Linked DNA regions of Homo sapiens: region 1 is linked to region 2. Evidence: promoter capture Hi-C in 16 types of primary human blood cells and fetal thymus (Javierre and others, 2016). All regions are on one chromosome and are shown on one strand. The core of a region is centred on a gene start or on the middle of the fragment in contact, and the rest is flanking DNA. Distances in the headings are between cores, read along the strand shown. Region 1 has its middle 28 kb from the start of CUL1. Region 2 holds the start of C7orf33 (chromosome 7 open reading frame 33).

Region 1 (4,656 bases), core at 1,746-4,245, 81 kb after region 2:
TGCAACCTCTGCCTCCTGGGTTCAAGCGATTCTCCTACCTCAGCCTCCTGAGTAGCTGGTATTACAGGAATGCACCACCATACCCACATTTTTCTACTAAAAATTTGTATTTTTAGTAGAGATGGAGTTTCACCATGTTGGCCAGGCTGGTCTCGAACTCCTGACCTCAAATGATCCACCTACCTTGGCCTCCCAAAATGCTGGGATTACAGGCATGAGCCACCGCATCTGGCAGACTTTCTGTTTATTTGTTTTTAAGATGGGGTACATTTACACACACTTACAGAAAGGCAGAAACAACAGATAGCAAAAGGTTGATCATAGAAAATAGAGAGGGGGACCATGGGTGGAATGGGAGCTGCGTGGAGATAAAAGGGAATGAGAGCTGGAGCCCAGATGGAGGAATTATCAGTGGACAGGAAGACAGACATGTCTGAGGCAAGACTGGAAGCTTCAGTTTTCCCAAGGAAGTAGAAGATCATCTACTGAGAGAAAAGTGGTAGGAGAGGAAGGCTGCTTTGAGAAGAGTGGCAGGGTTTGGACAGGCCTCCCTGGAGAGGGGAAACTAGAGCAGTCCAAAGACGTACAGGTGGGGCAGGTGCCCACGATGCTCTGCCAAGTCCCCCAGATCCTTCACCATTTCAGTGTTCACGGCCTACAGCCAGCACCTGCACCTATAAGCCCTGGGGCTGACCCCAGGCTATGGGAGCCCATTTGCCTGGATAGCTGGAAGTGTGGAGGTATTTAAGAATTCCAAGGGGCAGAGGCAGACTGGAAAGGTGGCGATACAATGAGAAACAAGTGAGAGTCAGAGTGTTGGTAATTCTTAATGGGATAGTGATTAAGAGTGTGAGCTCTGGAGTCGAACTGCTCAGGTCCAAATCCTAGCTCCAACACTGACCCTGGCAAAGTAGATGACCTTCATCAGCTCTTTGGCTAGATATTTAACCTCTCTGAGCCTTGATTTCCCACTTGAAAACACTAGCAAATTAAATGACCTTCATTGGATCTTGGGCAAGATATTTAGCCTCTCTCAGCCTTGATTTTCTCACCTGAAAAATGGGGATAGTTTTTTATTGTGGTAAAATATATAACATAAAATTTACCATTTTAGTTATTTTTAGATATACGGTTCAGTGGCATCAAGCATATTCACACTGTTGTTCAACCATTACCACCATCCATGTCCAGAACTGTTGCATCTTCCCAGACTGAAACTCCGTACTCATTAAATACTAACTCCCAATTCTCCCCCTTTCCCCAACCCCTGGCAACCACCATTCTATTACCTTTTTTAATTATTTATTTATTTATTTATTTATTTATTTATTTGACAGAGTCTCACTCTTTTACCCAGGCTGGAGTACAGTGGCGCCATCTCAGCTCATTGCAATCTCTGCCTAACAGGTTCAAGCGATCCCGCCACCTCAGCCTTCCGAGTAGCTGCGATTACAGGCACGCACCACCATACCTGGCTAATTTTTGTATTTTTAGTAGAGACGGGGTTTCACAATGTTGGCCAGGCTGGTCTTGAACTCCTGACCTCAAGTGATCTGCCTGCCTCAGTCTCCCAAAATGCTGGGGTTAGAGGTGTGAGCCACTGCGCCTGGCCCTCTATTTTCTGTTTCTGTGAATTTGCCTATTCTAGATTCCTCATATAAGTGAAATCATACTGTATTTGTCCTTTTGTATCTGGCTTATTTCATTTAACATAATATCCTAAACCTAAAGATTCATCTGTTGTAGCACGCATCAGAATTTCCTTCCTTTGTAAGGCTGACTCATATTCCATTGTATAGATAGGCCACATTTTGTTAATCCATTCAGCTGTTGACAGACACTGGGTTGCTTTTTCTGTTGGCTGTTGTAAATTATGCTGCTTCTTGGGTGTACAAATATCTGTTCAGATCCCAGCTTTCAGTTCTTTTGAGTATGTACCCAGAAGACAAATTGCTAGATCATACGGTCATTCTATGCTTAACTTTTTTGAGGAGGGAATAATTTTTTAAACTGTTACAAACATATTATGTATTAGAGTCATTGCTAGTGGTGATGGGGTGTTGTAGGAATGAGGAATGGGATGGCTGGAACGATAGGAAAGTTGTGATGAGAGAATGGAATCTTGCCCTTTAAACTTTGAGAGGAGGAAGACTTTTAGACAATGATGAAGAAAGGTTTAGAGTATGATCATAAGCGTGGAGGTAAAGTCACTGGAGCTGAGGCTGAGAGGAGCTCAGGACACTGCACGAGATGAGTCATGTTCATATACTCTGCAGTGCCCTAGGAAAATAGCAGGATGAAGAGAAATGTTGAGTTTTGGAAAGGAGCAAAAAATAATAGATGTAGTTGATAAATGTCAGTGGTAAGCGAGGAAGGTAGCATAATTCTTAAATGAAGAAGACATGAATGAGGGGCAAAGATGAATGCCTTGGAAATGACAATCCAAAATTAGGATGATACAGAAATCCTTCCTGTCCTGTGGCCAGCACAGCACATGAGTTTGAAAACTCAGCTCTCAGAGAAGTGTAGTGGAAGCCGTGTTCTTAGGGAAGATTCGGGTTTCAGTTAAAACGAGGAACTATGAAGGGCCCTCTCCAAAGCAGATGAGCATGTGGGAAAACAGGAAATCAGAAGGCCCCTCAGATAGAGTAAAGAGGGGTTGGTGGTGTGGTGCTGCTCTGCAAACGGAAGAGAGCAGAGAGCCAGCTGGCTCTGCATTTTGAACTGTGAGCAATGGTAAGCACAGTAGCAGAAAACTGGCCACTCAGAGATGTCCATAGCTGATCCCTGGACCTGGGAATATGTTACCTTACATGGCAAAAGGGACTTTGCAAATATGATTAAGCTAAGGATCTTCACTCTTGAGATTATTCCAGATTGCCTGGGTGGGCCCAAATAATCATAAAGTTCCTTCTAAGTGGACGGCAGGAGCGTGAGGGTCAAAGAAGATGTGATATTGGAGGCAGAGGTCAAAGTGATGTAGGGCAGTGAGCCAAGGAGTGTGGGCAGCCCCTAGAAGTTGGAAAAGACAAGGAAATGGATTCTCCCTTGAAGCCCTCAGAAAGATCATAGCCCTGCAGATAGAGTGTAGATTTCTGACCTCCAGAACAGTAAAATAATACAGTTGTGTTATCTAAAGCCACTACACGCATGGTAATTTGTTACAGTAGCAGTAGGAAACTGATACAGTGGGGGAAAGGATGAGAGCCTTTCTTGGATTGGCTGGCCTCAAATGCTCCCTCCAGCCCTGACCCAGTTCCATGTGGTATTAGAAGTCTGATGAATTCTACAGTCTTGTCAGATATTAGAGTAGCATATTAATGGAAAGGTGCTTTACCCTGGGTGATCTTCTCCTGGTGGACACAGAAAAGATATTTGTTACTTCCAAGACTGTATTAGTTATCTATTGCTATGTAACAAATTACCCCAAAACTTGGTGGCTTAAAGCAGCAAATATTTATGATCTCACGTTTTCTGTAGGTTGGGAATTTGGACATGGCTGAGCTGAGCGGTTTTGGCTCAGGGTCTCTCTTACAGTCTTGGGCAGGAGGTCGGCAGGGGCTATAGTCATCTGAAGGCTTGACTGGGGCTGGAGGATCCACTTCTAATATGGTGCCCTTGATGCAGGATTTTTTTGCTCCTTAGTTCAGCTAAAATCTGGGTTCTTGTCTCAGAACCAGGAAAAATTAGGCATGTGGAACATCGAAGGTTAAGGAAGGCAGATTTATTTGGTGAAAAGAAAGCTCTCAGCAAAGAAAGAGGGGATCCTGCCAACAGGCTGCCACATCGCAGACTGAATACCAGGCCACCACACACGAGCTGGAGAGGCCAGGCTCCTCTCTCTGCATAAGGCATGAGTTCCTGGTGGCTCCACCCCATTCCCCCAGTGCAAGTGGGCCTCCAGTCTGTTGTGGGCATGCCCAGGCAAGACCCTGTGCAGGCTCCCTTATCTGCCTCCTGAATCTACCACCCTCACATGACTGTAGGCCTTGGTTTCTCACCACATGGGGACCTCCTCACAACATGGCAGCTAACTTCCCTCAGAGAGAGAAATCCAAGGGAAAGTGAGCAAAGAAGAAACCATACTGCCTTTTGGCAGTATGTTCTCCCAAGTATCCCAAGGTTCACATCCCTGCTTCCATTTTATTCTACTTATTTGAAGCAAGTCACTAAGTCTAGTGTACTTTCAAAGTAAAAGGAATTTGGTTCCACCTCTTAAATGGAGGAGTATAAAAATATTGTGCAGCCTGGGCAACATGGCAACACCCCGTCTGTACAAAAAAAAAAAAATACAAAAAATTAGCTGGGCATGGTGCCATGTGCTTATAGTCCCAGCTACTTGGGAGGCTGAGGTGGGAGGATTGCTTCTTGAGCCCAGGAGGTGGAGGTTGCAGTGAGCCAAGATAACACCACTGCATTCTAGCCTGGGTATCAGAGTGAGACCCTGTCTTAAAAGAAGAAAAATACTGTGTACATATATTAAAGCCATCATAAAGAACATTAATTCCGAGGACTACTATAGTTCAAAGATTGAGGTCTCCATTGGGTAGATGGAAGTGATATGCAGCAGATACAATATTATACAATTTTGCATCTACAAATCATGTTTTTAAATGATAACACCTGATTTTGGCAGAGCCCACATCATTGCTGACA
Region 2 (5,306 bases), core at 2,368-4,867:
TAGCCAGAAAGGAAGGGACAGGGGAAGGGGAAGAGGCTCTCCCAGGATGGGCAAGAGAAAGATGGAGCACAGCAGCTGCTCAGTTGCTCCTTGAAGGACCCCACCCTGAGAGCCTGAAGGCAGCTGCTGTCAGCCCCCAGGAGGCCTACAGACCAGAGCCCAGAATAGACACCAGGCTGCTTGGGGCAGTCTAATCCCATGGAGGGTTTTAACACTAATGCTGCAGAGCCCATGTGTCTTTCCACCATGCCACTGCCATCCATGCAACAATCAACACAGAAGGAAAGGGTCAAAAGTTGCTTTTGGAGCTTTGCATTTGCACATGGGTGTTTCTAAGACAGATGCTAATTAATGCTTGGGGGGGCTGCCAAAACCTTGTTTCTGAAATATTTTCTAGACCCTTTAAATTCATCAGTATAGACACAATGACGATAAACATTTTTATAGTAGACTTTCACACAAGACAAAGATCAAAGGCATGTGTAATCGATGATAAAAGGAAGTGTTTCGAGTGATAAAAAAGTCATTCTCAAGTATATCTTGGTGTTGATTTTATTTTTAATAGCTCAGCTATGAGACTGTGACTTTGTGCATATACTTAAAACAGAGCTAACATTGGAAGCCTCTAACTTCACAGTTAGAGGGTCTTCATGCCCAAAGCACCTCCAACCATCCAAGCCATGATGGCACTCATTCTGCTGTTCCATCCCTTTTCGGAAGATGTGCAGAAGTCATCCTCAGAGTCCTCGGCACTATGCTTATAATTTGGACTTTGAACACCACGTGATCTCTGGCACCTGGTTATGGGGGTCCAGTATCCACAGCCCCCACTGGGAATTATGGCATTTCTCTTTTGTAGCATACAATACCAAATAATTAGGCTTTTTCTGTGAAAATAAACTGCTTTTAATACATGTATTATTAAACCAATAAAGCATTAATATTTACTAATTACTAATTTAAGCAAAGTAAAACCTATTTCAGAGTAAGGGAAAAGCATGCAGAAACACACATTGTTATGAGCTGTTGATAAACAAGGCTTAATATAATCCTGGTTTTCCTCATTCTATCTTAAAGGGACATTTCAAACTCTTGCTTTCATAAACAAAACTTTGTAATTTGAAAGAGTCCAGGTTTTTATAATGATCACGTTCCTTAAAATTAAACGACAGTTTTCACTTTTCTTAAAGGGAAAAGTGTTCAAAACTTTCTCACAGAGAAAGCATTGATTTTCCTCTGAGTTCCTCCCATGAACTGTCTTGATCGCTGCCAACTCAGTTCCTTCTGTATTCTGTGCATGTGGAATACACTGTTTTCTGCTTAACGAGTTATTTCCAACCCCATCCCCAGCCACACCTCAGTTCCACGAGTGTTCGTGGCTCAATGACCTAGGGACCCCAAGCATTCACCATAAATAAGGCTGTTTACTGACCTATTTTTACTAGGACTACTGAGATATGCTGAACCCTGGCGGGGGTGGGAGTCGGGGGGATTGAAGGTACACTTCTCCCTAGCACCATCAGTCATTGTTCAGATATTTAAATTTCACAAACAGAATCAATGGCCTGCTGGGGGCATTGTCACTTACACCGAGCAGGGCCATCTGTCGCAGCACTGGCATTTTCAGGCATTTTAGATGACAGCATTGCGGGATCTCGTTCTTTGTTCGTGGATTTCAGGATGAAGTCCTTCAATGGGGCTTCATGACTGACCAAGGTTTGAAATTGATAATGTCCCCAGATGGGGACTTGCTGATGCGGCTGCATTCACAGCAATTAGAAGATAATCTGGTGTAAAAACTGTCCGGAGAGCGAGGGGCACAGAATCCCTGAGCTCAGGTTGAGCAGGGGAAGAGAAAGCCAGATCTCCATTCTGGAGGCAGAGTTTTCCACTTTTCCCTAAGGGGTCGTCTCAGCAGCCGGCCTCTCAGCTACAACGTGCGGAAATCTCACTGCCCGATGTGCTAATCACAGAATTGCACAGGTACTCCCTGAATCCAACTTGGGTTATTAAAACAACAATGAGGCTTAGGCATTTGGCTCAGTCCACCCCCAGGGTGACCAGCTGGTCACCTCACTCCGCAACCCAAATCCAGGGGATTCATTCGTTGTCTAGGAATAACTTCTTCCACCTTGGGAATTCTCTGATTTACTCTTACCTAGGTCCACTGGTCTTGACCAAAATGTGAGGTGTCCTTAACTTAAGGTTTTGACTTTTAAGAGGCAGTCGAGGAAATAATATTATGAGGTCTGTCTATTTCTTTAGTGGTCAAAGACAGATAAGTAAAAAGGCAAAGCTAGAGTCCGAATGTATGGCTGCAGGTTCAAGATTCCAGGCCAAGTTCTTGGAACTCCAGCACCTCTAGACTCACCAGCCCCACCAGCCCCTCTGGCCCCTCCAGCCCCACCAGCCCCACCAGCCCCACCAGCCCCTCCAGCCCCTCCAGCTCTGCTGCAGGAAATCCTGCCTCAGGGAATCATGATGCACCACCCAAGGAAGTATTTGCAGAAAAAAGAGATTCCATTATTGCCTTCCCTCAAGGGTGGTGTTGAGCCCATTAAGCTTTTCCCCAGCAGTACACAGAGTAATCTTAGGGATTCTGGTGGGAAAAATATCCCAAATTCTGCTTCCTTATGCTTCACCACATGACCCTAGGGCACACGCACTAATCAAGAACAGCCCAGGGCATCCTGTCACCCCCCACGGTGCACCTGCAAACTGGCTTTTACAGCAACCTTGTCTTCCAAATGGGTCCGTATCTTTCTAGGCATCTTTTGTAATGCTAACCTGTTTGGCATTACCCAGAAATGCTAACATTTCTACCACTTTAACTAATCTTAAGAGATTAAATCACACTCCATGATACTCCTGACAACAAATAGCATTTTAACCAGTAATTTACGATAAGAAGATTTTCAATCAGTGGGCTAAGCCCTTCCCTGGTGATTTAAGAAACTGCCAGCCTCGATGGAGATTCTTCCATCAATTCCTCATCATTATAAAAGAAACAATGGAGGAAAAACTCATCCAATTAAGTGACAATTCCAATGTGTAAATCTTGTAATATTTTTTGCATTTGTGATATGGGTTCTACACTAAAAATGCAACTTGTCTAATCTGAATGAGATGAAAAATCCTGAAAAAGGATGTTATCCTCAATATTTTGTTTGTGCCTCTTGATTTAGTAAACTCCCAACCACTTTTTCATCCTTCCCTGCCAAACCCCGCTACAAAATGTTTCTCATTATGACCTGAGACATTAATTCTGATTGTAGAGGTTTTAGATCATTTCTTCTAGGTGTTAATCAGTTCTGGCCATATGGTGAGGGTGAGGTAATCATTATTACTTTACAATGAATGCCCTTAATTACTTTTTCAGTAGTAATATTAGTCCTTCTGTTTATTTGAGTACCTAAGAGCTGCAGGCAACGTGATCTGAATTACATGGAGGACAAGCTCCAGCTGACTTTCCGTAAACTCGCATTAGGATTCTAATAGGAGACGACAGGAGCAGGTGGGGATAATGAGCTGGCGGAAGGGGCTGCCTATCACACTGCTCGGTGGCCCCTCTTTCACCCCCACTTTGCCTCAGGCATTTTCTACTCAGCTGTGACCTTACTTATGGTGATGCCAATCCAGTGGTCAGGAGCGAGGCGCCCAGCCTGTGTCTGAATCCTCCTACTGACCCTGGGGATCCGTGCGACTTGATCTTAGATATTGGTGGTGAAGCGCCGCTCTCCTTGACAGCATCCAGGAAAGGTAATTACCTTTGCCAAAATGCAAGTGGAAGTTCAAAGCCTCAGCCTTGAAGAGTGTCCCTGGAGACTTCCAGGCCCCCAATGTGAATGTGAAGCCCTCCTGCCCAGTGGGGCAAGGCGCCGGATTGACCTTCGCCTGAGTGGGAGGGCAGTCGCTGTTTGGGTCCACGTTAGGGGCGGTCCAGGTCAATTTAACTTGTCATATGCCACGGGAAGACATAAGGTAAGTTAATGATTCTAAGATGAATCAACTGCTCTTTGAGTCAGTCAGTATCTCTTGAGAATTCATTCACTCAATCCATGAATGTTTTTGACTCTCTACTATGTGTTATGGAACTGGGCTTAACGACATTGAAGTAAAGAGAGAGACAGAGATTAATTCACTGCCCCAAAGAAGGCCTGGAATCTTCTTAGGGAAAAGAATCCTCACAAAACACTCCACTGAGTATTCTTGTGTTTAGCCTGAGTCATGTTGATTTGAAAAATTCCAGCGTAAAAATTGTATATTTTCACACAGTGTGGTAGAAGGAATGCGCTTGTTCTCAGACTATGTTTTGCCCTGGAGATGGGTCCACAGGAAGCCTCTATCTTGGTCACCCTTTGGCACAAGCTTTGCACCTGTTCCCTTCTCCTTGCCTAGATTCTTGTCTCTTCTCTCGCTTTAAAGACCAGGAGTTGTTGTTGTTGTTTTAGAGATAGTATCTTGCTCTGTCACCCAGGCTGGAGTGCAGTGTCACAATCATAGCTCACTGCAGCATCAACCTCCTGGCTTCAAGTGATCCTCCCAGAGGAGCCTCCCGGGTGGCTAGGACTACAGCCATGTGCCATCAGGCTTAGCTAATTTTTTTATTTTTTGTAGAAATGGGGTCTTGCCATGTTGCCCAGGCTGGTCTTGAACTCCTGTCCTCAAACGATCCTCCCACTTCAACATCCCGAAGTGCCACCCATGCCCAGCAAGACCTGGATCCTTAACTCTTTGCCTGTCTTTGATCTTTGACACCTCCTGATCCCCAAGCCCCTGCCTCCCACTAGGCAGGCATTTTTGGTTAAAGTATGAGCTCCCACTTTGTATTTATCTCCAGCTTTGGGTGTTCAGTTTGATGGGAACCACAGGTGTCCCCACCTAGTTCTCCAGCCCTAATTTGTTTTCTCCCATGTTGCAGTTCCTGGCTTCTTCCCATTTGCCCACACCCTCATTGTGGCACAGTGCCCCAAACTGACACATGCCACAGGCTCAGAGTATCTTCTGATATGAAGAATGACTCTGGTCATTCGAGGGCAGAGAGGATTTCATGACCTTTCCCTGAGAACAGCAGCATGAACTGCAGGGTCAGCAAGGGGGTTGTGTCTGCCTGCTGCTAAGGTCAGATGCAGACAGCCCATGTCAGGGAAAGCCCATTTAGCATAAGAAGAGTAAAAAGAAGAAAATACCTCCTCAGCCAGGGGTACTTTGATGTGAACCAATACAATTAGTCTCTGAATGATGAATATAAATGATAATCAATGACGTATATGTGCTTAAAAGAAGGTGAGAAAAGATTATCACTG

Evidence for each region. The method cuts DNA at HindIII sites, captures the fragments that hold promoters and counts their contacts. A CHiCAGO score of 5 or more calls a contact.
Region 1: a contact is called between a fragment that was not itself captured here and the fragment with the promoter of C7orf33 in region 2, in 9 of 17 cell types (activated CD4 T cells, M2 macrophages, naive CD4 T cells and 6 more). The highest score is 10.0, in activated CD4 T cells.

What each region holds. Positions count from the first base shown.
Region 1 is chr7:148,668,324-148,672,979 of GRCh38, forward strand. No RefSeq gene overlaps it. Among named protein-coding and RNA genes, the nearest start is that of CUL1, 28 kb to the right of the region's middle. The HindIII fragment of the contact is 5,093 bases long and covers 450-4,656 here.
Region 2 is chr7:148,587,149-148,592,454 of GRCh38, forward strand. It overlaps C7orf33 (chromosome 7 open reading frame 33), which reads left to right and starts at 3,618. Exons shown (of 3, transcript NM_145304.4): 1 at 3,618-3,981. The coding sequence starts at 3,778. The HindIII fragment of the contact is 1,806 bases long and covers 2,561-4,366 here.